Regions from separate parts of the Homo sapiens genome. Here all the other regions are linked to region 5. The links are contacts of gene promoters, found by promoter capture Hi-C in blood cells and fetal thymus (Javierre and others, 2016). All regions are on one chromosome and are shown on one strand. The core of a region is centred on a gene start or on the middle of the fragment in contact, and the rest is flanking DNA. Distances in the headings are between cores, read along the strand shown. Region 1 overlaps GRID1 (glutamate ionotropic receptor delta type subunit 1). Region 2 overlaps GRID1 (glutamate ionotropic receptor delta type subunit 1). Region 3 overlaps GRID1 (glutamate ionotropic receptor delta type subunit 1). Region 4 overlaps GRID1 (glutamate ionotropic receptor delta type subunit 1). Region 5 holds the start of GRID1 (glutamate ionotropic receptor delta type subunit 1).

What was found. Contacts are between HindIII fragments. The CHiCAGO score rates a contact against its expected background, and 5 or more counts as called.
Region 1: a fragment that was not itself captured here is called in contact with the fragment with the promoter of GRID1 in region 5 in 3 of 17 cell types (M2 macrophages, M0 macrophages and M1 macrophages); the score reaches 8.2 in M2 macrophages.
Region 2: a contact is called between a fragment that was not itself captured here and the fragment with the promoter of GRID1 in region 5, in 2 of 17 cell types (M0 macrophages and M2 macrophages). The highest score is 5.7, in M0 macrophages.
Region 3: a contact is called between a fragment that was not itself captured here and the fragment with the promoter of GRID1 in region 5, in 3 of 17 cell types (M0 macrophages, M1 macrophages and M2 macrophages). The highest score is 8.6, in M0 macrophages.
Region 4: a fragment that was not itself captured here is called in contact with the fragment with the promoter of GRID1 in region 5 in 1 of 17 cell types (M2 macrophages); the score reaches 7.3 in M2 macrophages.

Annotation. Positions count from the first base shown.
Region 1 is chr10:86,172,817-86,175,516 of GRCh38, forward strand. The region is part of intron 3 of GRID1 (glutamate ionotropic receptor delta type subunit 1); the gene reads right to left. Among named protein-coding and RNA genes, the nearest start is that of MIR346, 91 kb to the right of the region's middle. The HindIII fragment of the contact is 4,970 bases long and covers 1-2,700 here.
Region 2 is chr10:86,129,020-86,131,719 of GRCh38, forward strand. All of the region lies in intron 4 of GRID1 (glutamate ionotropic receptor delta type subunit 1), which reads right to left. Among named protein-coding and RNA genes, the nearest start is that of MIR346, 130 kb to the right of the region's middle. The HindIII fragment of the contact is 8,832 bases long and covers 1-2,700 here.
Region 3 is chr10:86,152,285-86,155,046 of GRCh38, forward strand. All of the region lies in intron 3 of GRID1 (glutamate ionotropic receptor delta type subunit 1), which reads right to left. Among named protein-coding and RNA genes, the nearest start is that of MIR346, 110 kb to the right of the region's middle. The HindIII fragment of the contact is 6,972 bases long and covers 1-2,762 here.
Region 4 is chr10:86,189,381-86,192,080 of GRCh38, forward strand. The region is part of intron 3 of GRID1 (glutamate ionotropic receptor delta type subunit 1); the gene reads right to left. Among named protein-coding and RNA genes, the nearest start is that of MIR346, 74 kb to the right of the region's middle. The HindIII fragment of the contact is 8,553 bases long and covers 1-2,700 here.
Region 5 is chr10:86,365,478-86,368,177 of GRCh38, forward strand. It overlaps GRID1 (glutamate ionotropic receptor delta type subunit 1), which reads right to left and starts at 1,318. Exons shown (of 16, transcript NM_017551.3): 1 at 837-1,318. The coding sequence starts at 915. RefSeq lists silencers at 627-776, 807-1,006, 1,237-1,286, 1,307-1,696, 1,807-2,016. The HindIII fragment of the contact is 11,562 bases long and covers 1-2,700 here.

The sequences.
Region 1 (2,700 bases), core at 71-2,570, 190 kb before region 5:
GAAAAAAATGCTATTATATGATTTTATTTTACTTGTTATTATAAAAAAATTTCAAACATTGGAAAAAAGGGTAGTGGGCCTTGTGTATGTCTTACCCAACTTCAGTTGTTACCACCTACACCTCACCCACCCTCAAATTAAGTTGAAGAAAATCTCCAGCATCACATCTTTCACATGTATACATTTCAATTGTGTCTCCAAAAGACAAGGATTTTTCCTGTTTTTGTTTTATTTTGTTTTTAACAGACAGAATATCTGTCACCCAGGCTGGAGTGCAGTGGCCCAATCACGTCTCACTACAGCCTTGATCTCCTGGACTCAAGCAATCCTCCCACTTCAGCCTACCAAGTAGCTGGGACTACAGGTGTGTGCCACCATGCTTGGCTAATTTTTATTGTTTTTTGTAGACACAGGGTCTTGCTATGTTGCCCAGGCTGGTCTCAAATTCCTGGCCTCAAGTGATCCTCCTGCCTCGGCCTTCCAAAGTACTGGGATGACAGGCATAAGCCACTGCACCTGGCCTGACAAGAATTTTTTCTAAATGCAATGCCATAAGCATACCTACAAAAAGTAAACAAACCCTTACTATCTTCCAATATCCAGCCAGTATTCACATCTTCCCATGGTCACACACATTTTTTTTTATAATTTTTTCAAATCAGAATCCTGACAAAGTCTATACATATAGCCAATTGTTTGATACATCTCTTAAATCACTTTTAGTCTAAACTTTCCTCCTCAGTCTTCTTTTCTTTTTTTTTATTTTATTTTATTATACTTTAAGTTTTAGGGTACATGTGCACAATGTGCAGGTTAGTTACATATGTATACATGTGCCATGCTGGTGTGCTGCACCCATTAACTCGTCATTTAGCATTAAGTGTATCTCCTAAAGCTATCCCTTCCCCCTCCCCCCACCCCACCACAGTCCCCAGAATGTGATGTTCCCCTTCCTGTGTCCATGTGTTCTCATTGTTCAATTCCCACCTATGAGTGAGAATATGCGGTGTTTGGTTTTTTGTTCTTGTGATAGTTTACTGAGAATGATGATTTCCAATTTCATCCATGTCCCTACAAAGGACATGAACTCATCATTTTTTTTTGGCTGCATAGTATTCCATGGTGTATATGTGCCACATTTTCTTAATCTAGTCAATCATTGTTGGACTTCTGGGTTGGTTCCAAGTCTTTGCTATTGTGAATAGTGCCACAATAGACATACGTGTGCATGTGTCTTTATAGCAGCATGACTTATAGTCCTTTGGGTATATACCCAGTAATGGGATGGCTGGGTCAAATGGTATTTCTAGTTCTAGATCCCTGAGGAATCGCCACATTGACTTTCAAAAAAGAGCCTGCATCGCCAAGTCAATCCTAAGCCAAAAGAACAAAGCTGGAGGCATCACGCTACCTGACTTCAAACTATACTACAAGGCTACAGTCACGAAAACAGCATGGTACTGGTACCAAAACAGAGATATAGATCAATGGAACAGAACAGAGCCCTCAGAAATAACGCCACATATCTGCAGCTATCTGATCTTTGACAAACCTGAGAAAAACAAGCAATGGGGAAAGGATTCCCTATTTAATAAATGGTGCTGGGAAAACTGGCTAGCCATATGTAGAAAGCTGAAACTGGATCCCTTCCTTACACCTTATACAAAAATTAATTCAAGATGGATTAAAGACTTAAACATTAGACCTAAAACCATAAAAACCCTAGAAGAAAACCTAGGCATTACCATTCAGGACATAGGCATGGGCAAGGACTTCATGTCTAAACACCAAAAGCAATGGCAACAAAAGCCAAAATTGACAAATAGGATCTAATTAAACTAAAGAGCTTCTGCACAGCAAAACAAACTACCATCAGAGTGAACAGGCAACCTACAGAATGGGAGAAAATTTTCGCAACCTACTCATCTGACAAAGGGCTAATATCCAGAATCTACAATGAACTCAAACAAACTTACAAGAAAAAAACAAACAACCCCATCAAAAAGTGGGTGAAGGACATCAACAGACACTTCTCAAAAGAAGACATTTATGCAGCCAAAAAACACATGAAAAAATGCTCACCATCAGTGGCCATCAGAGAAATGCAAATCAAAACCACAATGAGATACCATCTCACACCAGTTAGAATGGCAATCATTAAAAAGTCAGGAAACAACAGGTGCTGGAGAGGATGTGGAGAAATAGGAACACTTTTACACTGTTGGTGGGACTGTAAACTAGCTCAGTCTTCTTTTCTCCCCACAAGGCAGCACACCAGTATTCCACAGGATCTTTGGAAATCATTGAAAGTTCTATAAAGATGTGTGTGAATATGCGTGGCAGGGGAAGTATATGTGTTTAGATATAGATACAGCAATAGCTATAGGGATGGGTACAGGGAGTAGCCGCAGATAGACTGTCTCAACTTGTGGATCTGGTTATTCTCTGTGTATTTCTCTCTCCCCTTTCTCACTCACTTACTCCCAAAAGGCCATTTCCTCTACCTCTTTGCCCTCAATAAAGCAAAAAAAAAAAAAAAGACTCCAAGAAAGTGGTGGCCTAAGTTACCCTCTGTCTTTATAAAAACATCTCCCTCTTGATACCATGATCCCTCCTTCAATGGCCACCATGCCTCCATACCCTTTGACAAAGAGAATTCCATATGACCTAGCCAGCTGGCTCCACTTCCTCTCTTCCTGC
Region 2 (2,700 bases), core at 105-2,604, 240 kb before region 5:
GCTGGGTCTGCCTGGACTCTGCCCTTCCCTGCCCTGTAGACAGAAAGCCTATATAAAATGTCCTCAGACTCTCGGGTGCCTGGGAGGTTGTAGAAACTGCTCTTCTAGTTGACCATGGAGACACAGAGGCAGCCAATCCATCCCCTCAGGCTCTCTGCAGATGTGTTGGCCGAGAGAGGACTGGGGGTTGTCCCCATCTCCATATGAGCATTCAGAGGTGTCCAGTCCCCCTCCTCATGCTACCTGCTACTCCGTGGCAATGTTCACCTAGTCTGCTCTGTGTCACACTCCAGGAGAAAAATGGGCTCTCCCTTGATCTGTCAATGGCAACAAGCCTCCTCTCCCAACAGCACATAGTAGAAAAAAGCTGGGCTTTGAGTCAGGGTGTTCAGCATTCATAGCCCAGCTCTGTCATTTTTCATCTTTTAGACCATGAGCAAACCCCAAAATCCCCACAGGCTCAAAGCTCCATCCTAGCCCTTCTCTTCCAGCATTGTTGAGAAGATTCGGTGAGTTTCAGGGTCTGAATATGGTGAACTTGATAAATAAAGCCTGTCTTCATCCCTCCCTCTGCTCCACATCCCCCTCTTTACCATGTTCACCCCAAAGTTGAACAATGTTGAAGCAAAGTAAGAGTGAGAAGGCACATGGCCCCAGGTCACCTGCAGAACTGCCACCATCTGCTTCCACCCAGGAAGCTCATCTGCACACTAGGGCCTATGCTAGATGGACAACAAAATGGTCCCAACTCTCTGTCCTTCAAGGCAGCCACTCCCTTGGCAATGTGACTTTCCAGTTCCCCCCTCAAGAGCAGTCTTCCATCTAGAGGAGGAGTCTCTTTCCCCTGCCTGTTGAGCTGACTTCATGGCTTGCTCTGGACAAGAGATTGCAGTAGAAGTCACAATGCACCAGGTCTGAGCTCAGGCTTCAAGCAGCCCTGAGCACTCACACTTGGTCTCCTGGAACTCCGCTGCTGCCACATGAATAAGCCTGGGCTAGTGTGCTTGTCAAGGGGCAGGCTCATCACCCCAGCTTACAGCTGGCCAGTGCCATCCTCACCAGCCAGCCCAGATGCATGAGCCAGCCCAGCTGAGATCCAGTGAATCTAACCCAGGTCTGCTGACCACTAGGTTCATGAGTAACAACACATGCTTACTGTTGCATGACACTGAGTTTTAGGACACACAGCTAGCTGATGCAGAGCCCTTCTTCTCTCCAAGGGGACTGGCAGCTCAAGCACAGATGGCAGGTGACCAAGGCCAGATTCCTACCAGTGATGTAGACAGGAGGCCAGGAAATACTGGGTAGAAGAGGGAAGTTCCCCAGCAAAGGCTCCACCCTCAAGCCTGGAAACTCACAGCCCTAAATGGGAACAGTCATTCCTGTTTTCACACACAAATGTTGCCTTTTGGCCTGCCATGCCTGTACCCATATAAACCCCAAATCCCAGGCTCCATAAGCAGAAGGGCAGAGGAACAGAAGAGCGACACAGTAGAGAAGGAGAGGAGAGAAGGAGCATCTGAATGTCGAGAGGAGTTCGGTTGGAGACAGTCAGAGAGAAGATCAGCTGCAGGATGGTAGAATTCCAGGGGAATATAGTCTTCCCACTCCAACCCCTTTCCAGCTCCCCATCCATCCTACTGAGAGCCACTTCCATCTGGCAATAAAATCCCCTGCATTTACCATCCTTTAACTTGTCTGTGTGACCTGATTCTTCCTGGTTGCCAGACAAGGATCTGAGTACCAAGAGGGCGCTGAGCTGGTTAACGCTTAAGCCATCTGCAGATGGCAGGAGCTAAAAGAGCACTGTAACATGCCCACTGGGGCTTTGGGAGTCACAGGCACCCACCCCTAGTGCTACCGTGGGGCCAGAGCCCAAAAGCGCTCACCCCAGTTCCTGCACCTGCCCGTCTGCGTGCCCCCCATCCCGTAAGGAGCAAGCAGCCAAACAAAGGAGCCACGTCCCTATCACACGTCCTGCGAGTGGGGTCAGGGAACTCTCTTATCTCACCGGCACCAGGAGAGGGCTCTGTTTAGGGATGCCATGTGCAGAGAATGGCACCAGATGTGGACTACATGGCACAGATAGCTTCTCTGAGATAAATTCATACCAATTTAGATAATCTCTCTCATTTCTGCCTCTCATGACCCGCCCCCTCCCCCTGCATCCCACCACGTCTTCTTACAGCTTCCCCGCTGAGCTCCCCAATCAGCTCTTCAGTCAACAAGCAGGCTGACTCACCTCAGGCTCAGAGGCGAGGCCCCCCCAAGGCTGAACACCCTTGGGGATCCGGGAGCAGAAAGGGTAATTGAGCCATTTCGGCTGCTGCAGGCTGTTTCCCTTTGTAAATGCCTATTTCTCATGTCTGCTGCCTCCTTGGCCAAAGGGGCTACCTGCTAATAAGCCATAGATACTCTGCAGGGAGGAGCTGACACTCTGCTCCGCTATTTAATGACCCACAAAGGAAGGAAAGGCCACCAGGTGTCTTCAGGCCCATGCTTCAGGTTCACAGTTCTCTTTGACCCCAGACAGGCCTCCCAGACAGTCTCTGTAAGGCTTTCAGCACCCCAGAGCACCAAGAATGGGATGGCATGATTTGAGATGGAACTCAAAATAGAAACAACAGCCAACCAGAAAATAAACACCAGAAAGTCCAGCGGCACTCAGGCCTTTTTCCCTGATGATTGCTTAGATGCTCC
Region 3 (2,762 bases), core at 117-2,616, 210 kb before region 5:
GTGGGACCTTGTGTGCCCACAGAAGGATAGCCACAGTGGCATTTCTGGGCAGGAGGGATGCCAGAAAACCCTGAGACCAGGGCCTAGGGCCCAGCCATGCCAAGCCCACCACTCCTGCCCACTGCCTCCTGTCTCTGAGGCAGAGAAAGGATGACAGCAACGGAGACACTGCACTGGAGTGAGCCCTGAAGCCCCGCTCTGCGCCCGAGAGCCCCCATAGCTGGAGCAGATGCTGCCTAGCTCTCAGGGAGGCCACTTCAGGGCAGGGCTGTGGCTCCCCTGTGGGAGAAAGAGCCTGGGCTTTGGGGCCTGCCACAGGGGAGGTGGACTCATGGGTAGCCATCTCTGGCCTGGGCACGGCTCTTAAGCTCCCTGAGCCTCAGCCACTGCCTCTAAATTGGGCAGAGTGAGGCTGTCTAGGGGTAGGACCACTGTGAGGGGCACACAGAAGGACAGACATGAAGCACCTGGGACAGAGCCCGTGTGAGGGGCAGGCTGCTCGGAACAGCAGCCCATCCTCTCCAGTGCGGCTGCCACCCCTCACCCGCCTGTGCCTTGCCAGCCCTGACAGGGAGGCTTCTGCCTTCACAGCTTTCCACTGACCTCATGACAAGTGTTCTTTAAATTATGTATTTAATTTACATAATTACTTTCTGATATTTACTCGGGTTTAATTTGTTTCCTCGGGAACCTGTCTTTGAAGGGACAGTGGCAACCAGAGCCAGAAGTGAAGCCACAGCAAGGGGCCCACAGATGCCACCACCCCTCATTGTGGGCCTCCTGACGCCACTTCTGCAGAGGAACCTCACTCTGCCTGAGCTCCAGGGTGCCACAGAGCTTCCCGTGCCTGAGCCCAGTGGGTGCCAGGTCAGGTGGCATCTGGGACTCCACCCCATGCCTGAGTCTGGGTGCAAAGGAAGGCCTCCCTGACTGACACATTCACTCACACACACACGCTCAGGTATTCCAGCTCACCAGTGCTCACACTCACCTGCACTCACACACACTCAGTGGGCTGGAGCCCATCCTACCACCTTGCCAGAGCCTATTGTTAAATTTTCAGGAATTTGCAAGCCAGTTATTAAACATAGCCAGTATGGATTAAATTATATAAACCTATAATTAAATTATATTAACAAACAAAATTGATAAATACACAAAGTTCATCATTCCCTAATTATTTTGCTGCATTTTACTATTATCTGCGCTCTTGAGGCTATTAATGTCTATCCTATCTGAAACACCAGAAATAATGGGTGTCATTGCTTCCCAATTCCATGTCTAGGGACATCATGCTGCTCAAGATGGGGCTGGTGGTCAGCAGAGGCCAGGAGCTCTGCAAGAACAGCATGGGGACATGGCTGGATACCCCAGCCCAGGCAGCCAAGCCATGCTAGGAGCAACACAGATGGCCCAGGGCCTCTGCAACCCCACAGAGCCCCGCCACCAAAACATGCCTGCTAAGCCCCCAAATTAAAGCCACATCAATATTAATTAAGAGGCAGGATCTGCAGGCCTAATGGGGCTGCCTACCCATCCATCACAAACTCGTTACCTCCTGCCAGAACCTCTTGGGCCAGATTACAAATGGGATGTAGGGTGGGGGCGGGGAGGCAGGGTATTATCTTAAAATATAATTTGAATTTTCCTTCCAAAATACCATCCTCGGGCTGATCCATCACATGCCGCACCCGCCCAGGCCTGGCACAAGCATGGACTGGACGGTGGAGCCATCCATCACAGGCCGCCGGAAGGCCCTGGAAATGCCAGAGTTGCTCTTGGGCTCCGAGGAAGGTGCAGACAACTGGACTAATAGTATGATCAATGCCAGTGGGGTGGGGCTGCAACCATGGGAAATACCTGCCCAGACCAACACTGTCCCCTCTCCTCCTCCCAAGGGTAGATGTCCTTCCTGCCAGGAACGCTGGGTGAGGGGAGTAGGGAAGTGAGCCCCCATTTATGGCTTATGAAGTCCCTTCTTTGCACTGTCCCACTCTCTCCCCTTCATTTCCTCCTCACAGCAAGCCTACGGGAGCAGGATTTTCATTCCTTCTTTACAGAGGAAAAAACTGGGGCCTAGAGAGCTTCAGGCACTCTAGTAACAAGGGCTGAGCCAGGAGGTCTGATTCTGTCCAGCTCTGCCACCTCCAGGAGAGTGATACAACAGAATGTCGAGCCCCAAGGGCCACAGTCCACACCCTGGTCTCCAGAAGGGCCCCCGGCTTCTTGACCAACCTCCATATCCAAGGGGGTCCATCCCAGCAGGAGCAGGTGTCTCTAGAGAGTGGCTGCAGATCCTGGGAATCTTTCTCACCACTGCATACTCCCAGGTCCAAGCATGGAGCCTGGCATGCAATAGCAGCTCAGAAAAGTCACATGGAAAAAATGTTCAAATTAATTACAGAAATGCAATTTCTTGTCCAGGAGTAGAAGCTCGAGTCCAACAGAAGCCCACACCTGAGCTAGGCTGTGCAAACTGAAGAGGAGGAATTGACAGAGCTGCCATCGTAAGCTGGGCAAGAGCACACACCTCTGCTCGCTGCCACCTCTCCGGGAGCAAAACCAGGGGACACCCCAGCAGTGCACCCAGCACTGTACCAAGCCCCACACACTCCCCGTCTCATTTACTCACCCCAGCAACCCCAGGAGGGCAGGTCTATTATTATCCCCACTTTACAGATAGCAAAATTGAGGCTTGGAGAGGTGAGTGCCAATGCCACAATTCAAGTCCAAGTCAGTCTGACTCCAAAGCCCCTGCCCTG
Region 4 (2,700 bases), core at 194-2,693, 180 kb before region 5:
GTGGTCTCACTGCTACCACCCCCAGTAAGCCCTCATCACCATCCCAGAAGTCCTGACACAGCCTCCTCATTACTCCCCTGCCTGTGGTCTCCTTTTCCCCAGCATCCCTACCCTCTACACACACACACACACGCACACACACACACATCACATGCACACATTTCCACTCTATTCCACAAACTGCACTAAAAACACAACTTTATAGATCCCTGACCATGAACCTGCAATAGCTCCCTATTACCTATGCCCTGTTACCTACTATTGACACTTGAGGCCAGAAAGTTCTTTACTGTCAGGGGCTGTCTTAAGCGGGTGCTGTGCGATGTTTATCAGCATCCCTGGCCTCTACCCACTGAGGCCACTAGTACTCCTCCCTATCCCCTGTTATGACAGAGAAACACAAATGTCCCCAGACGCTGCCAAATGTCCCCGGGGCCAGAGGTGGGAGGAGGCTCTTGTGCCCACTAAGAACCCCTGCCCTGCAAGGACAAAGGTCAACTCCTAACATGGCTTTCCAGGCCCTTCTCTTTTGCCTGAAAACTCACCTAACCCTCCTTGCTAACACCCCACTCTCTGACCCTCGTGCTTCTCTGTGCTCAGGCTGTTACCTCCTGGGACCTCTGTCTCCCTCTGCCCAAGCCCTCCCTGCCTTCCAAAACCCAGTGCAAGTCCACCGCATGCCTTCCGTGACTCGGCCCCAGGCTCCTGCCTTCCCTTCAAAACACACCGTTACCTTGAATATCCTCTGTGTCACCATCTAGTCGCCCACCCCCAAGCAGGTCACAAACACTATGTGAGTGGGACACATGGTGTGATCCTAACCGGCCCTCCAGAATAAGAAGCTCTGACATGTGGCACTTACTGGCCTCCATGAAGTAAATATTCCCACCGGGACTGATTTCTAGTCACTGAAGTGCTGTGACCAAACACAGAGTTGGGAAGAGGTGGCCCAGTGGCTCACACGAGCCCCTGTGCACAGGCTCCAGTGCACCCCACATACCTCCTCCCTTTGCTGCCCCTGGGCCCCACAACAGGTGTGGGGGCCCATGAAGCCTGGCTGTGCTGGTGTCAGGGAGGGGCTGGGCAGTGCCCCATGGCTACAGCCTGGCTCTGTAGCCAGGTCCTCTGACTGCAGTGGCAGTAGCCAAGACCTGGTTAGGTCCCAGATGAACCAAAGGCACCCCTGACATGCCCATCCCCATCCTGCAGGTGTGCAGGGCCCCTGGAGCTCACCTGGCTCTCCCTTCCCTGCACAAGCCAGGCTAGAAGGAAGGCCTCAGGAAGAACTTCACCTTGAGCTGCCGAGGCCCTCCAGTGAAACCTCATGCCAACTTAGAAGAAAAGAGTTAATGTATTGATCTTTCTTGGTGACTGTTAGTAAGATTCATAGCTAGCCTCAGACCACATTCATCTGCACCTCTAACTTTAATGACTACAGGCACTTCAGATGTGTGGGTGTTCACATGCATGTGTCTATGTGCACATGTGTGCATAGTCGTGCATGCATGCATGAGTGTGTACGTGCATGCATGCATGAGTGTGTACCTGCATGCACATGTGCATCTGTGTGTGCTCAAATGCATGTGCCTGTGTGAACACACATGCACATATTGTGTGTGTGAGAAAGAGAGCTCCAGATCTCTGGGCTTTTTATTTCTGTCACCTCTAACCTAGTTGCTGAATCGCACAATAAGCATCTGCTCAGGCCTGTTACATGCATTTGATGCCACAGACTCAAAGTCAGGTAAAGCAGGCTTTTCACCCTGGAGGAGCTTACTGTCCAGAGGGAGGGAGAAAAGGAAGTCAGTAATTATGGCCCAGTAACCTGGGGTGAGATGCACAGAGGGCATCTGTGGAACCCAGAGAAGGGACAGCCCACCTGGCAGGGGAACAAGGAGAAGAGAGGAAACTTCCAAAACAAGGAGACGCTCAAATAAGTCTTGAGGATGGAGGAATAGCTTTCAGGCAGTGAGGTGGCTGGTCCAGGTCGGGGAGCCATGTGGGATGGTGGGGTGTGACTGGGACACATTCAGGAAGGTGAGTCCCTGGGTGTGGTGGGGAGTGCAGATTGCAGTCACATCCATCCCCCACCCTCCCCTGTTCTTCCCTCTAGAGTGCCCACCCCTCCCCTTCCCAGACTCCCTATCCTGCTGATTACCACTGACCACTGAGAAGCATGGTCAGGAGACTCAGGCACAGGAGGAGGAGGAAGCCAGGTATTTCACCCTCTCTCTGCTTCCAGTGTCTCTGGCCATGGTTGGGTCTCCCACATGCTCCCAGTTCCCTCAGGGTGGCCCCTCTATGAGGTCCCAGTACCCACTGGACAGTCATGGCTCCAGGACCATCTCTCCCATTCATCCCTCGAGCCCTGGGAGTCACTCCAGCCCTGCCCAGTTGTTAGTCTGGGCTGCTTCCACTCCACCTGTCCTCAACTCTGCCAGCACTTGTCAGTAGTTCCTCATGTTAAATCCCCTCCTCTGAATGACCTGGAGTGGGCCATGTGTTCCTGATGGCACCCCTGCTGATCCATCCTGCGTCGCTGGGACACAGAGGTCTTGAGGGAGTGATGAGAGAAAGGCCAGGGAGAGACAGACCTTGGAGGCCCTGTGCACTGCGAGAAGGGATCTGAACTTGATCCTTAAGGAGAGGGGGAGACATTCAGGGGTCTAAGCAGGGCAGTGAGTTAAGGAAGGTGACTTT
Region 5 (2,700 bases), core at 68-2,567:
CTCCTCTGCGCTTTCATCTTCTCTCCCGGTTCTCTCTCTCTATCCATCTCTTCCCGCTCAGCATCCCCCTACCCCCCGCTGCCCACGCTTCTTCCCTCGGCTCCCACCACCCAGACCGTCTGGGCCCCCAAGACTTGGACCACGCAAAACTCTAGGACTGTCCAGGATGGGGATGCAGTCGCCACAACCAGATACACACGCACTCACACATACACCAAGGGCTACACAGACACACACCGGAGAAGCAGGCAGACACTGTGTCCACTCTAACAGGCTGACAGACAGTCGTGCACGCACCAACACACGCTCAGATGGCCCCACACACCCCAACACCCTCTCACAGTAACACCGACACCGTGCCAGGCGCACACAGCGACACACGCTGACAACACGCACCCACACACATTCACACACGGTTCCGGTCCGGCCTCTTTGATCTTGCCCTGCCAACTTGGCGAGCCCCCCGCTGTACCTCCCCCTGCCCCCCGCTGCTCTGAGCTGCGCAGAAGGGCCCTCCCGACCCGCCGACGGCCCCGCTAAGGGCGCGGGTCTCGACGCGCGTCCATCCCGGTGTTCCCCGAAGCGTCGGCCCTAAGTGTCGGTAGAGGCCGCGGGGCCCCGCGCGGAGATCGGAGCCCCGGGGAGCGGCAAGCAGCCAGCGGGAGCGCGGCGCGGCCGGTGCACAGCTCCTCCGCCGGGCGGCGCGGCGCGGCCCTTCGGGGGAGCACCGCCCGCCGAGCCCCTCGGCCCAGGGAAACGCCAAGTTTGGACGCCGCGCACCCCCTGCCCCGTTGGGGCCCCCGCCCAGCCTCGGCCCGGCCTCCAGCCGCGCTTACCGATGTGGATGATGGAGTCGGCCCGCACCGACACGCACTGGCATATCCAGGGGAGAAGCCACAGCGTCAGCGCTTCCATGTCCCCCGGGCGCGCGGCTCATCCACCCGGGCCCGGGGCGAGGCCGAGGGCAGCGCGAAGCGGGGAGGCGCTGGTCCCGGTGCAGTCCCGGGCCGCTCCCCGGGAGAGCCGAGCCCGCCCGTGCGTCTTCCCCCGCGCGCCCGCCCCTGCGCCCTGCGCCCGCCCCAGCCCAGCCCAGCCCAGCCCAGCGCGGTCGGGCTCCCGCTCCGGCTCCGGTGGCGGCTGCGGCGGTGCTGGCAGCTTGAGCCCAGGCCGGCGCGGCGGGGGCGGCCCGCGGCTGTGGCAGCGGCGCTTCCCGCGGCTAGAGCGGCTTCGGGGGAGGCTGAGGCGGTGGCGGCGGCGGCCGGGCCGGCGTGGCGGCTCTGGGCTGGCTGTGTGTCTGAGCCCCGGCGAGGAGCGAACTGCGGAGGACGCCCCCTCCCCTCCCCCTCCCCCTCAGCTCCGCTCCCCCTCCCCTCCCTGCCCGCCTCCCTCCCCTCCGCCCGCCTCTCTACCACGTGACTGCGGAGCCTCAGCCTCGCCGCGCGGCTCTCGCCCGCTCGCGGCTCGGAGGGGGCGCCGGGTGCTCCACGCTCCCGGCTCGGGGGACGCTCGGAGACCGGCACAGCGGCGGGGACCGGCCTGGGCTGCGGCGCGCCGAGCTCTGACGGTTCGGGCCTCCTTCTCCGGTTCGCCAGGGGCGGGAGAATGGAGGAGGGCCGGCCGCTAACTGCCCTCGAGGGGCTCCCGAAGCGCCCTGGCGACCTCAGCAGCCGCGCGTCTCGGGTCATGTCCCCGGCCGAAACAGACCGTTCCTCGTGGAGTGGGACCTGGGGAGCAAGAAGAGAGACCGGGGCGGGGCGCCGGGCCAGGCCCCAGGACAGCTGGGGAGCCAGAGGGGGCCGGCCGCCGCAAGCATCTCAGAGTAGAGCCCGGGCCGTGGGCTCGAACCCTGGCTGGCCGCGCGGACCTCGGCGGGCGCCCATCCCCCGCTCCATGGGCAGCGCGCTCAGCCGGGAGTCGGGCAAGAGGCTCGGACTCTGAAGCCCAATTCATGGCCGGAAACCAGCGCAGCCGTGACCGCGGCGCCTGGACGTGAGGAGCCTTCCAAGCGGCCGGCGGGCTCAGACTCCGACCCTGCACGGAGCTTTCATGTGCGAGCCCGGGCGAAGAGCCCGCTCCTCGCGGCCACAGCGGAACAGGGCTCCCTCCGCCTCCGGTGCCTGCCTCGGGCCGGCCACCACCAAAGAGAGCGTTAAGCTGTTGTGGGCTCGTGCCTGAAAGGGACTGGGCTCCATGTGGCACCCCCAAGATTTCGAGGAGACAGCTGAGCTTCCTGGGGTCTGGGACCTGGCAGAGCCTCGTTCAAAAGCTGCTCCTCCAGCAAGCCTGGGAACGTCCCCGGGCCCTGTTGTCCGCGGAGGGGCCCCAGGACTCCCGCCACGCACCAGGGGGAGAGGCTCCCACCACAGCCCTTGCCCAGAGCTCCCAGCGCAGTGGGCGAGGCAGACACCCAACCAAGTCATCTTTTAAATGTTGGGGGGGGCTATGAATGAGCTGTGTATGCTCAGATGCCTGGGCTCTGAACCAGCCTGGGAAGAAGAGCAGGGATGACTTCCTGGAGGAGATGACAGTTGTAAAGACTGAGTGGAGGTTCCCAAGGGAGAAAATAAGGCTTCCAGGCATTGAATAGTGGTGAGCCAAGGCAAAAAGAAAGAAGTGTGTGTCTGTATGTCTGTCTGTCTCTCATGTGGCCAGAGCCAAAGAGTAAGCATTGGTAGATTTCACTTTGGAAAGAAAGATTGG